Linked DNA regions of Homo sapiens: region 1 is linked to region 2. The links are contacts of gene promoters, found by promoter capture Hi-C in blood cells and fetal thymus (Javierre and others, 2016). All regions are on one chromosome and are shown on one strand. The core of a region is centred on a gene start or on the middle of the fragment in contact, and the rest is flanking DNA. Distances in the headings are between cores, read along the strand shown. Region 1 holds the start of APBA3 (amyloid beta precursor protein binding family A member 3). Region 2 holds the start of SH3GL1 (SH3 domain containing GRB2 like 1, endophilin A2).

What was found. Contacts are between HindIII fragments. The CHiCAGO score rates a contact against its expected background, and 5 or more counts as called.
Region 1: a fragment that was not itself captured here is called in contact with the fragment with the promoter of SH3GL1 in region 2 in 3 of 17 cell types (total B cells, naive CD8 T cells and naive CD4 T cells); the score reaches 6.5 in total B cells.

The regions. Positions count from the first base shown.
Region 1 is chr19:3,761,233-3,767,112 of GRCh38, reverse strand. It overlaps APBA3 (amyloid beta precursor protein binding family A member 3), which reads left to right and starts at 5,421. Exons shown (of 11, transcript NM_004886.4): 1 at 5,421-5,577. MRPL54 (mitochondrial ribosomal protein L54) reads right to left here and starts at 4,431. Exons shown (of 3, transcript NM_172251.3): 1 at 4,295-4,431; 2 at 1,782-1,947. The coding sequence starts at 4,412. It overlaps LOC105372248 (a long non-coding RNA gene), which reads left to right and starts at 4,473. Exons shown (of 3, transcript XR_936268.1): 1 at 4,473-4,555; 2 at 4,907-4,964; 3 at 5,259-5,359. RefSeq lists an enhancer at 4,068-4,557 and a silencer at 5,219-5,536. The HindIII fragment of the contact is 175 bases long and covers 4,543-4,717 here.
Region 2 is chr19:4,396,500-4,401,877 of GRCh38, reverse strand. It overlaps SH3GL1 (SH3 domain containing GRB2 like 1, endophilin A2), which reads left to right and starts at 1,331. Exons shown (of 10, transcript NM_003025.4): 1 at 1,331-1,554. The coding sequence starts at 1,510. RefSeq lists silencers at 1,233-1,742, 1,803-1,852 and an enhancer at 1,141-1,970. The HindIII fragment of the contact is 26,532 bases long and covers 1-5,378 here.

The sequences.
Region 1 (5,880 bases), core at 3,381-5,880, 640 kb after region 2:
GGGCTGGGTGGGTCCCTGGCCATGCAGCAATGGAGCCAACCCCATCCCAGTGGCACATCTGAGGCTGGCACACGCCAAGCCCTCTCCTGCCTCCTAGCACTGTCCACATCATGCCACCTGCCCCCACTTGCTCAGCCTTCCTGACCCTCCCCAGCCTTCAGATCAGCTTGGGGCCACAGCAGAACCCTTCCTGCAGCCCACAGGTCCTGCCCTCACCTCCTCCCTCTCTCGCCCTCCTCACTGTGCTCCAGCCACACAGGCCTCCCCGCTGTTCCTCCAGCACACCAGGTGCGGTCCTGCCCCGGGGCCTTTGCACAGGCTGTGCCCACTGCCTGGAAAGCCCCTTCCACCCACTCCCGTCTTGGCTTCTGTGTCCCCCAAACCTCAAACTAGAGCAGCCAAACACCCCGGCTCTGTCCCTCATTCTCCTGCCCCCTTCCTGGAAGTGTCACCACCACAGCTGCCTGACTTCCTCCTTCCTGTCTGCCTCCCCAGCTAGCTCCGCCAGGGTGGGGACTTGTGTCTGTTTTGAGCCCTTCTGTATCCCTCAAGCCTAGAGCAGGGCCTGGCATGCAGTCAGTGGTCAATAAGTATTTGCAGGACGGGTGCGGCGGCTCACGCCTGTACTCCCAGCACTTTGGGAGGCCGAGGTGGGCGGATCACCTGAGGTCAGGAGTTCAAGACCAGCCTGGCCAACATGGAGAAACCCTGTCTCTACTAAAAATACAAAATTAGGCCAGGCGTGGTGGCTCACGCCTGTAATCCCAGCACTTTGGGAGGCCAGGGCAGGCGGATCACGAGGTTATCAGGAGTTCGAGACTAGCCTGGCAAACATGGTGAAACCCTGTCTCTACTAAAAATACAAAAATTAGCTGGGTGTGACGGCGGGCACCTGTAATCCCAGCTACTCGGGAGGCTGAGGCAGGAGAATCATTGGAACACTGGGAGGTGGAGGTTGCAGTGAGCCAAGATCACACCACTGCACTCCAGCCTGGGCGACAAGAGCAAAACTCCATCTCAAAAAAAAAAAAAAATTAGCCAGGCATGGTGGCGCATGCCTGTAATCCCAGCTACTCTGAAGGCTGAGGCAGGAGAACCGCTTGAACCCAGGAGGCAGAGGTTGCAGTGAGCCAAGACCACATGACTGCATTCCACACTGGGTGACAGAGCAAGACTCCATATAGAAGAAAAAAAAAAATTTTTTTTTTTTTTTTTGAGACCAAGTCTCACTCTGTTGCCCAGGCTGGAGTACAATGGCGTGATCTCAGCTCACTGCAACCTCTGCCTCCCAGGCTCAAGCAATTCTCGTGCCTCAGCCTCCCAAGTAACTGGGACTACAGGAATGTGCCACCACACCCGGCTAATTTTTATATTTTTAGTAGAGACGAGGTTTCACCATGTTGGCCAGGCTGGTCTCGAACTCCTGACCTCAGGTGATCCAAACGCCTTGCCTCCCAAAGTGCTGGGATTACAGGTGTGAGCCACGGCGCCCAGCCTGAAAAAAAATTTTTTTTAAGTATTTGCTTAAGATAAAGCATTGTTTTAGGTACTTGACATGTGTTCTAATCTCATGAATTCCTCACAGCCCTCTGAGGGAGGGATGGGTCCCATCACCCCATTACAGATGGGCAGAGCCCTGAAGCCCCCTGCCCTAAAGCCAGGATGGGTAGGTGTGACTATTAGGCTCCGGCTGGAGTGGCGATCCGCCTCTCCGGGAAGGGGTCCTCCTGGGGCGGAGGAAGGAATAGTCATTGCAGGATGACACAGCCTGGCCTACTCACCATTCAGGGTACTCAGCATCCGGTTTCAGGGGTACATCCTGCCCTTCCTTGTAGATGTTGACGCCCATGGCATATGTGGTGAGCTGGACAGGATCTGTGCATACGTCGGGGTCCTTGAGGGCCTCGCTGGTCACTGCACCTTTTCCCGATTTGGCCCCCTTCATAACTGGGGAGACGAGAGGGAGAGTCATTTCAGCCCAGCCCCTCCTCTGGAAGCCAAACTTCTCTCACAGAACCCTGTCTCAGGTGGCCTCTGCCCCTGGCTGGACTCTGCTACACTCAAAACTTTCTTTTTTTTTTTTTTTGAGACGGAGTCTCGCTCTGTTGCCCAGGTGGAGTGCAGTGGCGCAGTCTCAGCTCACTGCAAGCTCCGCCTCCCGGGTTCAAGCCATTCTCCTGCCTCAGCCTCCCAAGTAGCTGGGACTACAGGCGCCCACCACCACGCCCAGCTAATTTTTTGTATTTTTAGTAGAGACGGGGTTTCACCGTGTTAGCCAGGATGGTCTCGATCTCCTGACCTCGTGATCTGCCCACCTTGGCCTCCCAAAGTGTTGGGATTACAGGCGTGAGCCACCGCGCCCGGCCACTCAAAACTTTTTTTTAAAGACAGGGTCTCAGCCAGGCATAGTGGCTCATGCCTGTAATCCCAGCACTCTGGGAGGCCGAGGTGGGAAGATCACCTGAGGTCAGGTGAGTTTAAGACCAGCCTGGCCAACATGGTGAAAACTTGTCTCTACTAAAAATACAAAAAAAAAAATTAGCTGGGCATGGTGGCATATGCCTGTGATCCCAGCTACTCGGGAGGCTGAGGCAGGAGAATCACTTGAACCCGGGAGGCGGAGGTTGCAGTGAGCTGAGATCGCATCGCTGCACTCCAGCCTAGGTTACAGAGCAAGATTCCATCTCAAAAAAATAAAAAATCTAAAAAATTAAAAAATAAAGACAGCCCGGCCGGGCGCGGCGGCTCACGCCTGTAATCCCAGCTCTTTGGGAGGCCAAGGTGGGCGGATCACGAGGTCAGGAGGTTGAGACCATCCTGGCTAACATGGTGAAATTCCATCTCTACTAAAAATACAAAAACATTAGCCGGGCATGGTGGTGGGCACCTGTGGTCCCAGCTACTTGGGAGGCTGAGGCAGGAGAATGGCGTGAACCCAGGAGGCGGAGCTTGCAGTGAGCCAAGATTGCGCCACTGCACACTCCAGCCTGGGCGACAGAGCGAGACTCCGTCTGAAGAAAATAAAAAAATAAAAAATAAAAGCCCAGGCTGGAGGGCAGGGGCACAATCATGGCTCACTGCAGCCTCAAACTCCCAGGCTCAAGTGATCCTTCTGCCTCAGCCTCCCAAGTAGCTGAGATCACAGTTGTGAGCCACCATGCCCCGCTTATTTTTATTTTTATTTATTTATTTATTTATTTTGAGACAGAGTCTCACTGTGTCGCCCAGGCTGGAGTGCAGTGGCGTGATCTCGGCTCACTGCAACCTCCGCCTCCTGGGTTCAAGCAGTTCTCCTGCCTCAGCCTCCTGAGTAGCTGGGATTACAGACATGTGCCACCATGCCCCACTAATTTTTGTATTTTTAGTAGAGCTAGGGTTTCACCATGTTGGTCAGGCTGATCTTGAATTCCTGACCTTGTGATCCACCTGCATCAGCCTCCCAAAGTGCTGGGATTACAGGCGTGAGCTACCGCGCCAGGCAATTTTTTTTTTTTTTTATACAAACAGGGTCCTGCTATGTTGCCCAGGCTGGTCTCGAACTCCTGGGTTCAAGCAATCGATCCTCCCTCCTTGGCTTCCCAAAGTGCCGGGAATAAAGGTGTGAGCCATCATGCCTGGCCTCGAAATCACTTTAAGTGGGATTTGGACACAGCATTAAGTAACTTTAAGTGGGATTTGGACATAGCATTAAGTAACACCGATGCTTGGAATGACCAAGTCATTCAAGTTATATTTTGTCTGCTATGTGTCTGTCTTTAAGGCCGAACATTGGACAATTTCCCCCTTTCAACAAAGGAGATCAGGCAAGGCTGTATCCAGCTAAACCTTAATAACCTTGTTTTGTTCTTGCTGAAGTGGCCAATTAAACGGGCTCCATAATTTCTTTGAATGTTTGGTAACGTCTTGGCCAAGGTTACCCAGCGATTTGGAGGCAGGCAGAGAAACAGAACTGGAACCCAAGTTCATGACCTCCCCAGACTCCCTTCAAATCCTTTCCAACCCGCGCCTGCGCAGTGAAACGCGTGGTCTCCACGTAACCACATCCTCCTCCCAGGCCGCTCCGCCCCAAGCTGGCGCCTGCGCCCTGGGTCCAATCGCTACAGTATCTCCGAGCCAGACGCCCGAGCTCCAAGCGGCGCTGGGTCCCTCAAACTGCGCCTGCGCATACAGCCTGGCATCCGCCTCTCTGCGCTTGCGCATCAGTTCTAGCACCACCTCCCCAACCACCGCCTGCGCACTGTCAATTCCTCAGTGCACCCACCGTCCCCATTTGGTTCCTCTTAACCCAGCTCACCTGGTTTCTTGGCATAATCCCGGGCCAGGAGTCTTCCGGAAGTGGCGGGGTTTAGGAGCTCCCAGGCCCCCCAGCCGGCCCACGTCCGGGTAGCCCCGAAAAGGCGTTTGGTCGCCATGACGTATTGCGGGCAGCTTGCAAGTGCACGTTTCCGGAAGACGTCAGTGGCCCAAGGGTGTTTGGGAGTTGTAGGCCCCGTGGAAGTGTAGGCCCCGTGGAGGTGTCTGGGAAATGCGGTCTCCCAAGCTTTCATAATCTATGGTGATTTCTTCAGACTTTTGTAGACATACACAGTTACTATAGGAGGAGGCGTTCAAGGGATATTTCATTGACTTCTTGCCCTTCTTCAATTACATAACATTTACTAAAAATATCACACTTTATATGTTCCTGATTCCATCCAATGAGTAATTATTCAAAGCTTTAAAGTTAAAAAAAGAAGATTAACAATGAGTCTAATATACTCCAGTAGGGCTGGAGTCTAATCACTGTTAATTTTTATAACATTATATTTTTAAAATTATATATAACATATATAATACATATAATATATAGTATGTTTTATATATAATATATAAATTAATAATATATATTTTATATATTCTTTTCCAGCTCTACTACTGCTAAATCCTTAACCCGCTTGATCTAATTTAATCCTCACAATTGAGAGGTAGGTACTATTTTTTCCCCAGCTTATAATGAGGAAACTGAGTTCTCAGGGAGGTAAAGTTCCCAGGCCGACCCCAAATCCATGGTGCACCTATGTGTCTCCCTACTGTGAGCCAAACCGAAAGTCCGTCTTTAACAGGGTCTCCACGACGCTTCCGGTGCCTCAAGGTCCCAAGGAAACCACCTCTCACACTTCTTTAATATTTCCCAACCCCACTTCTCCCCATCTGCCATCCTTTGGAATAATGAACACAGCCCCCAGAGCCAGGCAGTGATTATTAACCCTATTTTGCAGGAGAACAAACAGGTCCTGGGGCCAGCCGGGGCAGTCTGCGGGCCGGGAAGCCTGGGATTCGAACTCCCCTCCAACATCTGCAGTTGTCCCAGCGCCCCCGCGTGGCGAGGCTGGGTGGGAGAACTACATTTCCCAGCAGGCCTCGCGAGGCCGCGCATGCTCAATGGGCCAGGGCTCTGCGCGGATAGAGGAGCGGGCGCCGGGACCGGGAATCCCCGAGCTGCGCCTTCTGGGGACGCGGCCCGGGCTACGTCGGGGCCGTCCGTGGGGAGCGGGGTCCTGGAGGCTGCGCGGGGCTGAGGCGGCCTCGATTTGGGAAGTGAGTGTCCTCGAGGTGCAGAGCGCAGTCTGAGTCGGCGCTTGAGGTCTTCGGTCTGAGGGGGGACTAGGGTCTGGGCTTGGGGCTGGGTCCTGAAGTCGGGGTCTGAGTCTGGAGTCGATCTTGGGGTAGCATTGGAGGTTTGGAGACTGGGGTCCGCCTTATGGCGTCTTGGGTCTCTGGTATTAAGTCCAGGGTCCTGGGTCTAAAGTTCTGGATGGAGGTATTGGGGGTTGAGGTCATGGGACTGGGGTCTTGGGTCTGGGGTCTTGGGGAACTGCCTCTGACCAGTCGGTAGAGTCA
Region 2 (5,378 bases), core at 82-2,581:
GAATTAATTTCTGCCTTTTGTCATTAGTTCTGGCGAGGGTAGGACTCATTCCTCACTGGAACCCCAGGACCTGTTAGTAACTGATCATATTTACCAGGTCAATAAATGTTTGAGTGAATGTATAAATATTTGATTGAACTGTGTAGATCAAGCAGATTAAAAGCCTCACACAAAACAGAGAACTTCAGTGTCAGCCTGTGAGTGTAGAAACAGGTTTTCTTTCTTTCTTTCTTCCTTCCTTCCTTCCTTCCTTCCTTCCTTCCTTCCTTTCTTTCTTTCTTTTTTCTTGAGACGGAGTCCCTAGTAGCTGGGACCACAGGCGCCCGCCACCACGTCCGGCTAATTTTTTCTATTTTTTAGTAGAGACAGGGTTTCACCGTGTTAGCCAGGATGGTCTCAATCTCCTGACCTCGTGATCCGCCCACCTAGGCCTCCCAAAGTGCTGGGATTACAGGCGTGAGCCACCGCCCCTGGCCCTGAATTGCATTCTAGAAGCATCTTTCTGGCTGCCATGACAAGGAAGAATTGGAGGGGAGGACTGGTGGAAAGTATGGTCAAGGCATGAAGACAGACCTAGATGTCTAGATGTGTCACGTGGGCAACTGAATGGATGAACACAGGACAGAGAGAGAGAGGAAGAGAGGTGGCCGGGCACGGTGGCTCATACCTGTGAGACCAGTACTTTGGGAGGCTGGATTTGGTGGGGGGGTTGGGGGTTGGATCACCTGAGGTCAGGAGTTCGAGACCAGCCTGGCCAACATGGCGAAACACTGTCTCTACTAAAAATACAAAAATTAGCCTAGCATGGTGGTGCGCGCCTGTAATCTCAGCTACTTGGGAGGCTGAGGCAGGAGAATCGCTTGAACCCGGGAGGCGGAGGTTGCAGTGAGCCGAGATCACGCCACTGCACTCCAGCCTGGGAGACAAAGCAAGACTCCGTCTCAAAAAAAAAATAAATAAATAAATAAAAATGGGAGGGGGCTGAACACTTAGACGAACTGGATTTAGCTAAGATGAGTAAACAGGAATCTGAAGAATCGTAAGCAGGGGCCCCTTCTACTTCCCAACCTCCCTGGCCAGGTTTAAACTAAGCGCGTTTTCCAAGACGTTAGGGTCACCTCCACGACTCCAGGGGGCGCTGCAACTGCTACGGCCCCTCTAGGCTCGCCCCGCTCAACTCACTGACAGAGGCGGCCTCTCCCGCGGTAGACAATGTGCACGTGCGCTCTTCAGCCGGCAGAGGGCGCGCGTGCGCAGACGGGGCCGGGGGCGCGCGCGGGGGCCGGGGGCGCGCGCGGGGGCCGGCACCGGAAGCGTGCGGTTGCCATGTAATATCCTGGCCGCGCGGGCGCGCGAGCGGCTGAGGCGGCGCCGGGGCGGGCGCGGAGCTGGCAAGCGGGTGGCGGAGGCGGCGCCGACGGGGACTGCTGAGGCGCGCAGAGGGTCGGCGGCGCCCGGGAGCCTGTCGCTGGCGCGGTCCGGGCGGGAGGCTCGGCGGCGGGCGGCAGCATGTCGGTGGCGGGGCTGAAGAAGCAGTTCTACAAGGCGAGCCAGGTGAGCGCAGGCCCAGGCGGGAGCCGAGTACCGGGCCCCGGGCTGCCCGGATGAGGGAGCCAGGCCCGACCTGGCCCGGGAGGGGGCCGGGGGGACCGAGGTGGGGACGTTGGCGCGTGTCCCCTGCCAGGTGGGAAGACCAAGGGACGGACGGGGGCGACGAGGTGGCCCAGGCCCTGCCCGCCATGCGGGCTCCAGAAGCGGGGACAGAGCCCCTGGGAGGAGGGGAGAGGCACCCTGGGCTGCCCAGGGACGCGGACCTCTCCCCTCCTTCTCTCCGCTGCAAAGGCGGGGTGCGGGGAGAGAAGGGGAAGAGAGGAGTCCCGAGGCTGTCGACACAGGACTCTTGCCAGATAACCCAGAGCCAGGGAAAAGTTGCGTCTAGAGCAGTTACGTTCAAAATCCTCTGGATGGGCAAGGTACAAAGTTGAAAAGGTAGAGGAAGAAGTCAGTTTCCCCTCTCTGCTCCTCGGGCAGCCAGCCCTTCTCCCCAGAGACAAGCGACTGTCATCGACTCCGTATGTCCCTTTCCTAAGATACGTGTGTGCCTTTCCTTTAAAAACACGTACCCTGTGATAGCATATGCCACAGAATCCTGTGTGCTGTGTTTTTCATTGCTTGGAGATCACACTGGAGCGGGATTTCTCCCCCTCCGTCGGCACTGTTGACATCTGGGGCTGGATTGTTCTCCGTGGTGGGGCCGTCCTGGGCACTGCGGGGTGCTGAGCAGCGCCCCTGGCCTCCACCCACTCCGGGCCAGGAGCACCCCCAAGTCGTGACAACCAAAAATATCTTGAGACATCACCGTGTGTCCCCTTAGAATCAGTCCTCCTTCCCTCCCTTCGTTCCTTCCTTCCTTCTTTCCTTCCTTCCTCCCTCCCTCCTTGCCTCTCTCCCTCCCTCCCTTCTCTTCTTTCCTTCCTCCCTTCCTTTCCTGTCCCCCAGGACTACTGCTCTAGACCATACTCCACACTTCTTGGATTTTTTTTTTTTTTTTTTTTTTTGAGAGGGAGTCATGCTCTGTCGCCCCAGCTGGAGGGCAGTGGTGCAATCTCGGCTCACTGCAAGCTCCGCCTCCTGTGTTCAAGCAATTCTCCTGCCTCAGCCTCCCCAGTAGCTGGGACTACAGGCATGCGCCACCACGCCCGGCTACTTTTTGTAATTTTAGCAGAGACAGGGTTTCTCCATGTGCCCCAGGGTGGTCTCGAACTCCTGGCCTCAAGTAATCCGCCTGCTTCGGCTTCCCAACATGCTGGGATTATCGACGTAAGCCACCTGCCTGGCCTACTTGGCTCTTTTTAATGGGTACATTGTATTTCATTCCATGACATATACCATAATTTATTTAACCAGTTGTCAGTTGATAGATATCTCTATTGTTTACCGGAATTTTCTGTTACCATTACTACAATAAATAGCCAGTGAATATCTTTGCTCACCAGTGGGATTAGTTTTATAGGATGAATTCCCAGAAGTAGAATGCTGCATCCCAGCCTAAGTGCATTTGATATGGACAGATAAAGGGTTTTTTTTGGAAACTCCAGGGCCCACTGCTCATGAATCTGGTGAAAGCTGTGGATCCACTCTCCAGAAAACTGGGCACATTTAAAATTTTCACTTTGCAATTTCGAATGCAAGAAGCCTCAAATTTGGCCGGGCGCGGTGGCTCATGCCTGGAATCCCAGCAGTTTGGGAGGCCGAGGCGGGCGGATCACTTGAAGCCAGGAGTTTGAGAGCAGCCTGGGCAACATGGCAAAACCCCATCTCTACTAACAATACAAAAATTTTGTATTTTTGCCTGTAACCCCAGCTACTAAGGAGGGTGAGACAGGAGAATCTCTTGAATCCGGCAGGCAGAGGTTGCAGTGAGCCGAGATTGCACCACTGCACTCCAGCCTGGGTGACAGAGCGAGACTCCGTCTTGAAAAAAAAAAAAAGACAAGAAGCCTCAGATTGTTGAATCCTATTGGTCCGTGTACTGCAGGGTGAGGTTGTGTGGAATTTGTGTAGATAGAGTCCACCGAGGAATGAGCAATGATCTTAGCAAATGCTTGGGCCAAGGTGGCAAACAGGGTTCTCTGCCCACAGTTCGGAGATGCCCAGTGGGAGCAAAGAGAAACGAGTCCCCAGTAACACCCAGCAGGTACCTTTGCCCCTGGAAAGAAAAAAGTAAGGACCCTGCCAGGTGCTGTGGCTCATGCCTGTAATCCCAGCACTTTGAAGGCTGAGGCAGGGGTTCCCTTGAGTTCAGGAGTTCAAGACCAGCCTGGGCGATATAGGGAGATCCCATCTCTACAAAATATGAAAAAGTTAGCCAGGTGTGGTGATGTGCACCTGCAGTCCCAGCTACTTGGGAGGCTGAGGCAGGAGGACCACTTGAGCCCAGCAGTTCAAGGCTGCAGTGAACTATGATCGTGCCACTGCACTTCAGCCTGGGCAGCAAAGTGAGACCCTGTCTCAAAAAATAAATAAAAAAAGTAACAACCCTAGTGGTTGTTTAGGGATATAGATACTTAGGGTCTATCTCTACACCCCAGATGATGGTTAAACCCTGGAGAAAGATTTAATCCAGACGAATTTTAGAGTTGTCACTGAGAACAGTCCCACCCCCTTGCCCCAGCACTTTGAAATCAGATGGCCTGGCCCTGGGTTAGACCTTGCCCAGCAGGCGTCAGACCTTCACCTGCTTGGTTAGAGCACCATAGAGTACTGCTCCCTAGCAGGAAAGATGTCCTCAGAGGTCTTGGAGGAATTCCTGGGCCACTTTGTTCCCTGCTATAGACAGGTCTCTGGAAGCCACCACCCCCACTCCCAGCGATCAGGGCCTGTGCCCATATTGTCCTGAGCTGACACCCTCTTTAGAGGAATGAACCAGGCCTCTTGTGCCGGCCACCAGGACTTTGTCTCTCTCAAGGGAAGCAGGATGACCTGCGTTCAGATCTGTGAATGGCGCCTTGAAGCCTGGAAAGGACAGTGTGGTGTTAGCTGGGCTTAGGATTGCCTATTTCCACATCCCGAGGCCTAGTCCCAAAGCACAATGGCCACAGCCCACCCTCGGGGCTGTCGTCTTGGCCTCCTGGTCAATTCTGTCCTGAGTCGTGCTCTTAGAAGTCACCCTGGCTGCGTTCCATGCTCTTCTGTGATCATTGCCATGGTTCCCTCTGACATCTCAGCTGTTATCTGGACGTATCCGACTATTTGTGTCTCTTTTTTTGTTTTTAGTCTAATAACAACTCTTTCACCCTCTGCTGTGCCTGTTGGAAAGTGACATCTCTCGGGATCTCTCATTACGTAGTGATACAAACATTTATTGAGTTCTCACCATGTGAGCAGGCAGTATGCTTTATACCAGTAGGTCTCAGCTGGTCTTGCTTATCCGGTCTAAGGGTAAAAAACATTCCCCCTTTTACACAAAAGGATTAGGGGACATTTATCTTCCTGTAAAACAGGGCCAGTTCTGTCCTCCAGGGGACATTGACAATGTCTGGGACCTTTTTGGTTGTCACAGCTTGGTGCGGTGCTGCTGGCTACTAGTAGGTAGACGATATTGCTGGACATCCTCCGGTGCCCAGGGCAGCATCTCCCCACTGCCCCCAAGAATTACCTGGCCCCAAATGTCAATAGTACCAAAATTTGAGAAACCCTGCTTGAAGATTTGGAAAAAAAATGAGGATAATTATACCAAAACAAAGGAACAAAAAAATCCCCACTGAGCCATTCTTACGATTTTCCTAGTTTGGCCAGGTGTGGTGGCTCACGCCTTTAATCCCAGCAGTTTGGGAAGCACTCCAGCCTGGTGGATGAGAGCGAGACTTCGTCTCAAA